Regions from separate parts of the Homo sapiens genome. Here region 1 is linked to region 2. The links are contacts of gene promoters, found by promoter capture Hi-C in human tissues and cell types (Jung and others, 2019). All regions are on one chromosome and are shown on one strand. The core of a region is centred on a gene start or on the middle of the fragment in contact, and the rest is flanking DNA. Distances in the headings are between cores, read along the strand shown.

Evidence for each region. Contacts are between HindIII fragments. The study calls those that stand out against the background at their distance.
Region 1: a contact is called between a fragment that was not itself captured here and the fragment with the promoter of NOL6 in region 2, in 1 of the 25 tissues and cell types used here (mesendoderm cells).

What each region holds. Positions count from the first base shown.
Region 1 is chr9:33,791,389-33,797,183 of GRCh38, forward strand. PRSS3 (serine protease 3) reads left to right here and starts at 4,173. Exons shown (of 5, transcript NM_002771.4): 1 at 4,173-4,225; 2 at 5,255-5,414. The coding sequence starts at 4,186. The region is part of intron 3 of UBE2R2-AS1 (UBE2R2 antisense RNA 1); the gene reads right to left. RefSeq lists an enhancer at 4,722-5,222. The HindIII fragment of the contact is 4,072 bases long and covers 2,271-5,795 here.
Region 2 is chr9:33,470,307-33,476,546 of GRCh38, forward strand. It overlaps NOL6 (nucleolar protein 6), which reads right to left and starts at 3,618. Exons shown (of 26, transcript NM_022917.5): 1 at 3,483-3,618; 2 at 1,900-2,106; 3 at 1,698-1,814. The coding sequence starts at 3,536. It overlaps LOC107987061 (a long non-coding RNA gene), which reads left to right and starts at 3,834. Exons shown (of 3, transcript XR_001746648.3): 1 at 3,834-3,891. RefSeq lists an enhancer at 3,230-3,569. The HindIII fragment of the contact is 8,318 bases long and covers 1,883-6,240 here.

The DNA of each region.
Region 1 (5,795 bases), core at 3,057-5,556, 320 kb after region 2:
GACTGACCCGTTGGCTGCCTTCCAAATGGATGACACAGTCTAGACTTTTATAAGCTAAATGAGTAGAAGGAACCCAGTTGACTGGATTTATCACCAAACCCAGCTTGTGAGCCTCAATTTAGAGCTAGTATAATTTAGAAAAATAAATACATACACCATATATTAAACTCTGAGTATCATGAAACAGATCCTAGATGTTACAATCATAAGAATCTATATGGGTGTTTCTCCTGCACTCTGTCCTGGCTTTCTTCTGCTTCCTGTCTAAGGGAGCCTGGACTCACTTAAGCAGCTCTAATAGGCCAAACAAGAGAGTGGTCAAGGAGTGGCTGAAATGTGAACAGAAAGACTCACCATTATATTACAGCAATCAATCTATCCTTAAAATAATTTAGGTTTAGTCTCAAGTGCTAGAGGCTTCCCCATTTACCCATACATGGAAGCCTGAAGAATAAACAGAACTATAAACTTCCCTCCGGGCATAAAACTTGCATGTCTTCCATGGCTTCAAGGTGGGGAGCAGCTGGGCAGGCAGAAGGAGGGGCAAGGGGCAGGCAAGAGGAGGGGCAGGAGGCAGGCAGGGAGGAATGGGCTACTCCATTTAGCTGATCAGCCTTGACCAGTTCATGCTCTGCGACTCCATATTACAAGTCAGACTTTTCTGGATCATACAGAGCACTCCCTTCACTCTCCAGATTCAGTGATTCCTGGGATGAGATAGTAACAAAAACAATTCCTTATTGGATAAAGCGAAATTGTGCCGTGGGGGAGATAAGAAGCTTAGAAAAAAAGAAAAATAATGGATGAGGAGAGGAGCTGGGAGTTTGGCGGGAAGACAGCCTAAAATCTGACAATCTGTTTGCAGAATGATAAAGGATGCTGGAACCCAAGGAGGAGTTGACTAAGAGCTTAGGAGAAAGATCTGGTGGGATTTGGAGAAGAAAGTGTTAAAAAAAAAAGAATTTGGAATCTGACACTTTTCAGACTACTATGAGGTCTGAAAGACTCATGTAGCAACGTGAAGAGGAACAAACTTTGTCTGAATAGGGAAGGTTCTAGTATGATCTTTGCTGGAGAAGTCATTTGAACTCTGAGTTTTAGATTGTTGATTTGTAAAAAGGAGAGAACAATATCTGCTGCCTACCACCTCAGTGAGGGTGCACCAAGGATCAGCTCAGAGGAGGCAAAGCAGAATGCCCTATGGCAGAGCATGGAGGCCCTAGAGTCAGACCACCATACTTACATCCCATCTTTAAAACCTACTGGCTGTGTGGCCTTGAGCAAGTCACTTTACCTCCAGAAAGCTCATTTAATCACCTGGAAAATGGGCAATCGCATAAGTGGTTGTAATGTAAAATGAAGAAAAAATTCTTAACTTATATGAGTTACATGCTGTATAGTAACATGGTATATAGTAAGCACACAGAATTGATTCACTGTTATCAAAATTGAAGGACAGTGGTTTGATGTGCTAAGCACTCAGTACAAGCCAGAAAGATGTCTTAGAGAAGAAGACAAAGAAATCTCTAGTTCAGGATGAAGAGTACCAAGAATGGCATGTCCTCCAAATTGAGCTTGGGCAGCTGGATCTGAACCTATCCTACACATCTGAGTCTACAGTATGAGGTAACAGTCTCCACCTATAGCTATCTTCTCTGCCTGTAAGGTCATTCCTTTTTGAAGAAAGCTGACCTCAGACTATACTGTGATCATTTAAGGAAGAGCGCAAAATACTGGAGAAGGCTAATCTTCAAGCTCTAGATACAGAAAATCCTCATATTCTTGGGTGTTCCTTTCAGACAGAGTCAGAGCCACAAGCACTGATCCAAAAATCCCGTTCTCCAAAAAAAGTTTCCATCTTCTGCCAAGGTTCACCTCCCTATTTAGTGCACACTGGTGTCTACAGTTGCTACAGCAAGAGCCTTTCCTTATCCTCTAAGGCAGGAGTTGTGTGAAGACCCCATGACAAGGGGACAAAATGAAACAACATGTTTAGGGGCAACACAGGAAAAACCCATATTATCAATGCTCCAAAACCTGGATACCTCAGGCTTGGCCAGTCATTTGTGAGCAGAGAGGTGTGTCATCTACATGGCAGTCATGGCCTGGATGGGTCTGGAACTGTGGCAAGGGAAGTCTCTGAGACAAGGTGCCAGGAGAAAGATGAATTCAATCATCTATTTCTGCCAGGAAGAAAAGCAGGAGGAAGGAATCAGATGCACAGTTTGTCCTCTGGGGACCTCTGCCTTGATCCTCAATAAATCTCCTTTTAGATGTCACCTGCAGCAATTCCCACAGTTCACAATGATCTCCATGGCTTCCGTTGGCCTTATGGTGAGCTCTGCCAAGATCTGTATTCTTGGGCAAGACAGAATCCTTCTGAATCTCAGTCTCTTCCTCTATAAATGGAAATAATTTTGCTCTGCACAAATCACAATTAGCATGTTTGTGGGAAGTCAAACTGTGAAACTCAGCATAACTGAAAAGCAATGTACCACTGTTGCTTATGTGAAAACTCTTGTAAAGCTGTCAGGCACCATGCACCATCTAAGTACAGCAGTGTTAGGTATGAGCCCATCAGTGATTAGAGGGGATGTGGGGTGGAGAGCGGGTCTCTGAGCAGTGGATCTCCTGGCTTTGGGGAAGCTGGCTCGTTGGCCATGCCAGGAGCTGAACCTGAAGGTACTCTGTGTGTCCTCTCAACTCCACGGGCCCCACATTCGCATTTTTTCCAATTCCCTCTGGTTTCCATTTGCTTCCTCCCTCTAGCCCCCTGGCCATGTCCGATCTCAACACGAAGTTTCTGAGCTTTTCTCATTTTGTTCACCATCTCCAGAACATCTCTGCTTCTTTTACTTTTCAAAGAATTTAAACTTGAACTCTGCTCACTCCTGCCCATCACCAACCTGAGCTCAGAGTTGCTGAGAAGGGAAAGCACCCTCATAAGGAAGCTCCTCCTTTCCTTACATCATTAGACTTGATCACAGACAGCATCTCCATCTCCACACTACTCTGGCCAGGTTGTGCCTCAGTCAATTACACAACTGTGTCTTAGTAGCCTTGGTAGGGCCCAAATCAGGATATTCTCTGGGAAGATTCACTTGATACTAAGCCCAGCATAATCTCACTGCATCTAAAATAGAAAATTCTAGACCCACCCCTCCACATCTTCTTATTGATCCCAATATGTGACCCATTTACCATGTGCTAAAATCTCTACCTACTGCTGATTCTCAGATCAGATGGTAACCCAGATTTACCATGGTCCAAACTCTGACATCTGATCAGGGGCATGTCATTCTGGTTCAGGCTGTCAGCCCTGAGCAGGTGAGTCAGTTTGCATCACCCTAAGTGCAGGTTGCCAGGACAACCGTGAGGCTGCATAAAAAGAACCTATGACAGGATGCACATGAGAGAGACAAGTGGCTTCACATTGAAGAAGGGGAGGAGTGCGCCATTGGTTTTCCATCCTCCAGATGCACTGAGTAAGCTCCTACCTAACCTGTGTCCCCTCCTTCTTTGAAACACTTCCCATCCTTTTAAGCCTTGGTAGGAAGGAGAGCCATCTGGAAGCCCAGAATCCTATGGAATGCTAAGTCTCCCTTCTCCTTACCCCTTAGTGTTGGAATTCTGGATACCCAAAGTCTTGGATTTGACCTTTGTGCACAGTGACTGCAAAGAAGCATATTCATATTCACAAAAATGAGCCTTAGATAAGACTTTCCTCCTCTCGTGGGGGCTCCAGGAAACTGAAAAGCCAAGCTTGTTACCAATGCTTGCCCTTCCTTAAGTACATTATTAAATACATCCCCAATAGTTAAAAGGACTCCTAGACACCCAGGCCATTCTCCCTCCTTCTAACCCTCATCTCCTCGGCCTACGAAAGCCCAGCTGTGTGATCCGGGGATTGGTTTCCCCTGTCTTCCCCATCCCAGCATCCTTCCAGGAAATAGCCAGTCTCCCTCTCTGCTCTCAGAAGGCAAGTTTCCTTATCACCTGTGAATCACAAACCCACAGAGTGGCCAAACGTAGCCGAGCTGATGCAAGACCCTGGCAAGGGGAAAGCTGCAGGTGTGTTTGTGCTGGGAAGAACTGTGACCCTCACCTCACAGACACCTCCTCTCCTGATTCTTGGAAGGGTATAAGGACAGGCCTTCCACCACCAGTCAGGCACACTCTACCACCATGAATCCATTCCTGATCCTTGCCTTTGTGGGAGCTGCTGGCGAGTTTCATGACCTGCCTCAGGCCCCACCCACCCCCTTTCCTGGCAGACACATGCCCTGCCATTCTTGCCACCTCTCCTCTTTTGACTGCGCTCTGATATTCTATTTCCTCCATCTGACATATCTCCTTCCCATCCTCCTTGGGCTCTCTTTAAGCCTCACCTGTTTCACCTTTTCCCTCATTTCACTCCCACCACTGTCATTCATCCATATCCGAGCTGTGGTTGGAGAAGCTGGGAAGGGAGACCAGGTGGGGCTGGCCCATGAAATGAAGTGGCAGGCTTCAGGCTTGGCTCCAAGAGCACCAGTATAGCACCACTATAGCTGCTCTTAACCTCGAATGCACCTGGGGAGGTTCAAAAATTACTCATGCCAGAGATTCAACTCTAGAAGTTCTAACTTCATTTGTCTGGGGTGCAGCCTGTGTACTGGGCTTTTAAGCTTCCCAGGTGATTTTTAACGTTTCCAGGCATGCCGCCAAAGTTAAGAATTGCTCTTCTATTGGCCAATAACAAAGTCTACCTTTGTTATGCCAAAGTGAGCCTGGGGCTGCCCTCAACTCTGCCCTCACTGCACAGATCTGAGCTATGGGGGAAGCTAGTCATGGCCAGGTCTACCCAGACAGGGGGTTTTCCTAGCTTAGCCAAAGTATCCTGACAATCCAGGGCTCAAATAGCCAGGGCAAGTACACAGGTGATGAATAAAAGAGAGAAGCACTCAGTGGGTGAGACAACAACATACCAACTGCTACCCCACTGGAAGCATTTTGAGGACATTCCTTGCATCCTCAGCCTGGTGTCCCCAGGAGAGATCTGAGCCCCTGCAGGGTACCTAGCTACGTGCCCTGCAGACACAGAGACTTGGGAGCCACATCCAGTGATGCTCACCAGGGGTGGCAGCGCTCCCTCCCTTGCCTGGCCTCACTGGGCTTGTTAAGGATTTCTAATTGGCAGGAAGCAACCGCAGGCTGGGAGCACCACCCCTAACATGCTACTGACTTGCCTTCTCCCTTCCTATTTCCACTCCAGTTGCTGTCCCCTTTGACGATGATGACAAGATTGTTGGGGGCTACACCTGTGAGGAGAATTCTCTCCCCTACCAGGTGTCCCTGAATTCTGGCTCCCACTTCTGCGGTGGCTCCCTCATCAGCGAACAGTGGGTGGTATCAGCAGCTCACTGCTACAAGACGTAAGTGTGGGGCCCCTGACTGCAAAGCTCCCAGCCAGGCTGCCTGGGAGAGCTTGGCTTCAGCCCAGGGAAGTACTGAGGTTGGGTAAGACGGATGGGAGAGGTGGTGGAAAAGAAAACTTGTTGACAGCAGCTGACTCTCCAGAGCAAGGCCAATCCATGAAACAGCAAGGGTTGTGGTCATAAAAGCAGGCAGGGATAATCTTGGAGTTGTCAGAGCTAGTGACAAAAGCAGGCAAGTACCTTTTGCTGGTTAGCTACACATTAAAGCGACCTAAGACAGAGTTTTTGAAAATACTGATGCCTGTGTCCTACCCCAGGGCAATTAACTCAAACTTCTCAGGAAGACAGTGTGAATACCAGTGAGTATTTAACACTCTA
Region 2 (6,240 bases), core at 2,368-4,867:
CCCATAACTATGTCTTCCTTGCTAAGACAACTCCATATGAGTTGCTCAAGCCAAAACCACTTAAATCACCTTAACTTAGCTCTGTTAAGAATACCCATTTTACGAGCCGGGCGTGGTGGCTCACGCCTGTAATCCCAGCACTTTGGGAGGCCGAGGTGGGCGGATCACGAGGTCAGAAGATCGAGACCATCCTGGCTAACACGGTGAAACCCCGTCTCTACAAAAATAATTAGCCGGGCATGGCGGCGTGCGCCTGTAGTCCCAGCTGCTGGGGAGGCTGAGGCAGAAGAATGGCGTGAACCCGGAAGGCGGAGCATGCAGTGAGCCGAGATCGCACCACTGCACTACAGCCTGGGGAACAGAGCAAGACTCTGTCTCAAAAAAAAAAAGAATACCCATTTTACTACCAAAATGTATTCAGAAATGGATCACTTCTCTAAAAAGAAAACTTTTTTAAAACAGAGAGAGGAAAAGATTTAAAAAAAAAAAAAAAAAAGAAAGAAATGGATCACTTCACTACTTTCCTCCCTAGTTTGAGGAGCCACCATTTCTCAGTGCCTAGACTAGTTCCTAACTGGTCTCTCTAATCTCATCATTGTCCCTCTCGATTCTACTTTTGACACAACAGCCGGAGTAAATTTTTCTAAAACTAAACTTTTTAAGGCTGGAAAAGTGAACGTTTTAGGCTGGGCACGGTGGCTCACACCTGTAATCCCAGCACTTTGGAAGGCCAAGGAGAGCAAATTACCTGAGGTCAGGAGTTCAAAACTAACCTGGCCAACATGGTGAAACCCCCTCTCTACTAAAAATACCAAAAAAATTAGCCGGGTGTGATAATCCCAGCTACTCGGGAGGCTGAGGCAGGAGAATAGCTTGAACCCGAGAGGTGGAGGCTGCAGTGAACTGAGATCGCGCCATTGCACTCCAGTGTGGAGGACAAGAGCGAGACTTCGTCTCAAAAACAAAAACAAAAACGTGAACTTTTAAAAGTTAGAGGGCATCACTGTTCTGCAAAATAAAATCCAGCAGTGGCTCCCCATCTCACCCAGAGCAACAGCCAAAGTCCCTACTTCGGGACACAATGCCCTGCATGATATGCTACTTTTCCCCATCACCTTTCTGAACTCATCTCCTTCTGTATTCCTCATTCATTCCAAGGAATGTAACTGGAACATTCCTGCCTTTGTGCCTTTGTACTGGCTGTTCCCCCTTCCTGGAATGCTTTTATTCCCTTAGATATCTATATAGCTGACTCACCTACTTCAAGTCTTTACACAAATGTCACTTCAATAAGGCCTACTTTGTGAACACCCCCTTTAAACTTGTAAACCACTCCCATCCTCTAATACTCCCAATCCCCTTACATTGCTCGTCCTACTTTTTCCTTTTTCCAGTGTTTACCACATTCTAACATTGCCATAGAGTTTACCTGTTATGCTTATCTATTAACTATAACCTCAGCATTACAGCATAGGCTATTATTTACTGATATATCCTAAGAACACAAATACTGCAAGGCATGGAAGTACTTGCTGAATGAATACACAAATGACCACGCTCCCAGCTAAGCTTCCTTGCTGTGAGAATGAGCTCCCTGCACCCCAACCCTTAAACAGAGTAACAGCAAGGCCCCTGTTTGATATACCCCCACTGGAGGTCTCTCTTGGGCTTCCCAGTTCCCCAGGCCACTTGCTTACCTCTGTCTCAGGGACTGAGGGCACCCTCACAACCCGCTGGTTGACCTCCCGTAGGAAGGCATCAATCCGATCCTTCTTCTTCTCTGACAGCCTTACTTCCTTTAGTAGCTCCTCTACCTGTAAGAGAGGGTAGAAGACAGTCCATCAGCCTCAGGGTCCCAGGTACACACCTCGAACAAAAGCTGCAGACACTCAACAGTACCTGTAAACGAAGCAAGCTGGAGTGGAACAAGATCTCAGTCTCCCGAAGGCGATTAAGCTCCTCATTGGTAGGCTCCTTGTACAGTTCTGCCCTGCTGAGCTTCACTGGCTGCAGGAGGCCCTTCGCTGGAGGTTCAGCCAATGTACGCTTCCTGGAGGATGCTTTCTTCCCCTCTTTGCCTGTGCCTTCCAGGGCTGGTTCCATCACCTGTGGCCAGTGAGGGAGAAGCCATTTTGAGGTAATAGGTATCTAGCATCTGCTGCCTAAAGTGCCACCATGATAGGTTGTGGGTAAAAGCTTCACCTGCTCTGTCCCTCTTTTGAGTAGGAGTCAGATTTTGTAAAACTCAGGAGAATCGTTACTTGGATGAACATCACTGAGCGCTGAGCCGAAAATTCCTTGAGTTAAGAGCTCTCCTGTCTACCTGACACCACAAGCATGGAGCTCTGTTTGGAATTGGTAGTGATAGAAGCTGACTGGGCCCAGGCTGGACACGGTGGCTGACGCCTGTAATCCCAGCAGTTTGGGAGGTGGAGCTGGGCGGATCAGCTGAAGTCAGGAGTTCGAAATCAGCCTGGCCAACATGGGGAAACTCCGTCTCTATTAAAAATACAAAAATTAGCCAGGTGTGGTGGCACATGCCTGTAATCTCAGCTACGCGGGAGACTGAGGCAGGAAAATCACTTGAACCCAGGAGGCAGAGGCTGAAGTGAGCCGAGATCGTGCCATTGCATTCTAGCCTGGGCAACAGAGCAAGACTGTCAAAAAAAAAAAAAAAAAAAAGAAGCTGACTGAGCCCTGCCCTAAGTAATGCCCAGGCCCCTTGTATTTTCAGGAAGTTTCCTCTTCTGCTGATATAGGCCTGGGACTTCTCAAATGTCTTTCCCATTCTCGCTCCAACCAAATCCTGCCAGGTTCCACCTCCTCTAGGAAGACCTGACTGCCTCAGTTTACACTAAATACTCACTGATGGAAGGAGCTAGAACCGACTGGACCCCAGAGGACACATTTAGCAAGTCATTAAATCCTCAAAATAATTCTTGAAGACACTTGAAGTCCCACTATTCACTCGAGGTTCCACAACTGGTACACCCGTACTATGAGCAGGCTTCAAAGGCAAGCGTGCAGGATCCCAAACCTTTTCCCCTACAGCCGTGGGCCCATCCGCTCCACGATGCCTCTCATCCCAGAGAGCCTTACTGGAGCGCTCCAGGAGAGGCACCGTATGCCCTCCGCTACAGCGGGGAGCACAGAACTGGACACAAATTCTGTGGAGGAAGATCCCGCTTATCGTCAAGGACCACCAAATAAAAGAAACGACCCAAGTGTGGGTCTCTTCAACTTTGAGGTGCAGAGCTCCAGAAGAGAGCAGAGGCTCTACCGGCTTCACTGCTTCTAACCAAATACTGCCAGGTTCCATCACCCCTAGCAAGCCCTGTCTCAGTGCCACTGGCTGGAAACATCCTCCAGAATGGGCCGCCGGCATGGCTTTCACCCGCAAGCTGTCAGATCACGCCATCTCGGGCCCTGCAGCCAAGGGAGCGCACATTGAGCCTCTGTTCCTCCCCGATGGCTCAACCCACCTCTGGCTCTCCAGTCGCTCCGCGAAGCTGCTCTCCAGCTGGCGCCGGCCCCATCACTCAGGGTCCAGCACTCTCCCGCACTTCAGATTCTAGCCGGGTCTATACCTCATAGCTTCCCACGTGGGCGGAAATGCCTAACTCCAGGCCCAAGTCCAGCCCACCCCAATTCCTCAGGACTCCACCCACTCCAGAGCTATTGGATTATCAGTCGATTACTCGCTTGCCATTGGCCGGGCAGTCTCAAGGCCCGCCCATTAGGGGAGGGGACAAACGGGTTTCTGTGCTTTACGGCCTCTTCGCGACGCTAGAACGGAAGCCTGCCCGTAGCTAGGCCTTTGCTTTCTTTTCCTCACTTCCTTCGCGTGGCTGCAATCGGGAAGGGCGGAGCTAGTTTGTTCCTTTTGGTCAGGTTTGTTTACAGCAGTTATTCCTCCCTTTTTCTTTATTTGCTACACCTTATCAGTTAACAAATCTTGTCAGTTCTACCTCCAAAACATACCTTGAATTTATTCATTTTTCTGTGTCTTCACTGCCAGGTTTAGCCCGTCACATCATCTTGTTCCCGAATTATTGTTATGACTTTTCTCCAGTTTTTACTTATTACTTAGCTTATTACAATTTCAAGTAATTTAGTTATTTTTATTTATTTATTTATTTATTTATTTATTTATTTATTTATTTATTTTTGGAGTAGTCTTGCTCTGTCGCCCAGGCTGGAGTGCAGTGGCACGATCTCAGCTCCCTGCATCCTCCCTCTCCCAGGCTCAAGCGATTCTCGTGCCTCAGCCTCCTGAGGAGCTGGGATTACAGGCAGGTACCATCACACCCGTCTAATTTTTGTATTTTCACTAGAGATGGGGTTTCCTCATGTTGCCTAGGCTGGTCTCAAACTCCTGACTGCCAGTGACCCGCCCACCTTGGCCTCCCGAAATGCTGGGATTACAGGCCTGAGCCACTGCTCCCGGCCTATTTTTAAACTATTAAAAATTTAAAACAAATGTTGCAAGAATAATATAATGAATGCGCATATACTCTTCACCTAGATTCACTTAGTGTTACTATTTTGCCAAGTTTATCTTTACCTATGTATTTACATATTATTTTGCAAAACCATTTGAAAACCAATCACACATCTCCCTAAATACTTAGGTATGTATCTACTAAGATCAAGGACTACCTCTTATGTAAGCACAGCCCGATTATGAAATTAAGGAAATTTAATCGTGATTCAATACTAGTATACAAATTCCATCTTTAAATTTTGTCAGTTATTCCAGTAATAACCGTTATATGTTTCATTTTATTTCCTAATGCAGGATCATCTAAATTCAACTATTACCATATAATATATATATATATATATATATATATATATATATATATATTTTTTTTTTTTTTTTTTTTTTTTTTTTTTGAGAGAGAGTGAGTGTCCCTCTGTTGCCCAGGCTAGAGTGCAGTGGGTCGATCTCAGCTTACTGCAACATCCACCTCCTGGTTCAATTGATTATTGTGGCTCAGCTTCCCAAGTAGCTGGGATTACAGGCATGCGCCAACACACCAGGCCAATTTTTGTATTTTTAGTAGAGACAGAGTTTCACCATGATGGCCAGCCTGATCTCAAACTCTGGCCTCAAGTGATCTGCCCTCCTCAGTCTCCCAAAATGCTGGGATTACAGGGGTGAGCCACCGTGCCCAGTCTAAAAATTTGTATTGAAGTACAATATACATAAGGAAAAATGTACATATCCCAAGTGTAAAGCTTGAATACTAACAAACCAAACATACTCATATAGTCAGCTCCCAGAAAATAAGCAGAACATTTCCTGCACCTTCAGAATCTCCCCTCATGCTGCCCTCTAGTAACTCTGCCCCCAACAATCACTATTCTGACTTCAAACAGTGCAGGTCAGTTTATACAATAGCTTTTTTATTATTTATTATTTATTTATTTATTTATTTTTTGAGACAGAGTCTCACTCTGTCGCCCAGGCCGGAGTGCAGTGGCACGATCTCGGCTCACTGCAAGCTCCACCTCCCGGGTTCAAGTGATTCTCCTGCCTCAGCCTGCCAAGTAGCTGGGACTACAGGCGCCCGCCACCACGCCCGGCTAATTTTTTGTATTTTTTAGTAGAGACGGGGTTTCACCGTGTTAGCCAGGATGGTCTTGATCTCCTGACCTCATGATCCACCCGCCTTGGCCTCTGAAAGTGCTAGGATTACAGGCGTGAGCCACCGCGCCCGGCTATGCGATAGCTTTTTAAGGAAGTTTCAGAAGAGCGGTATGTCCATTTTCAATTCATTTTCCACACAGCTGCCAGAATTAGTTTTCTAAAATAGAAATTCTATCATGTCACTTCCTTTTAAAAACTCATCAGTGTCTTCCAATTGTACTTAAAACTAAACACAAACTTCAACTTCCATAAAGTCATGATCAATATGGCCCTTCACTTGCTATTCCTTCTTTTTATTTTATTTTATTTTTTTTTTTTTGCGACAGAGTCTTGCTCTGTCACCCAGGCTGGAGTGCAGAGGTGCAATCTTAGATCACTGCAACCTCCGCCTCCCAGATTCAAGCGATTCTCTTGCCTCAGCCTCCCTAGTAGAGTAGCTGGGACTACAGGCACATGCCACCACACCCGGCTAATTTTTGTATTTTTAGTAAAGACAAGGTTTCACCATGTTGGCTAGGCTGGTCTCAAACTCCTGACCTCAAGTGATCCGCTCACCTCAGCCTCCAAAAGTGCTGGGATTACAGGGG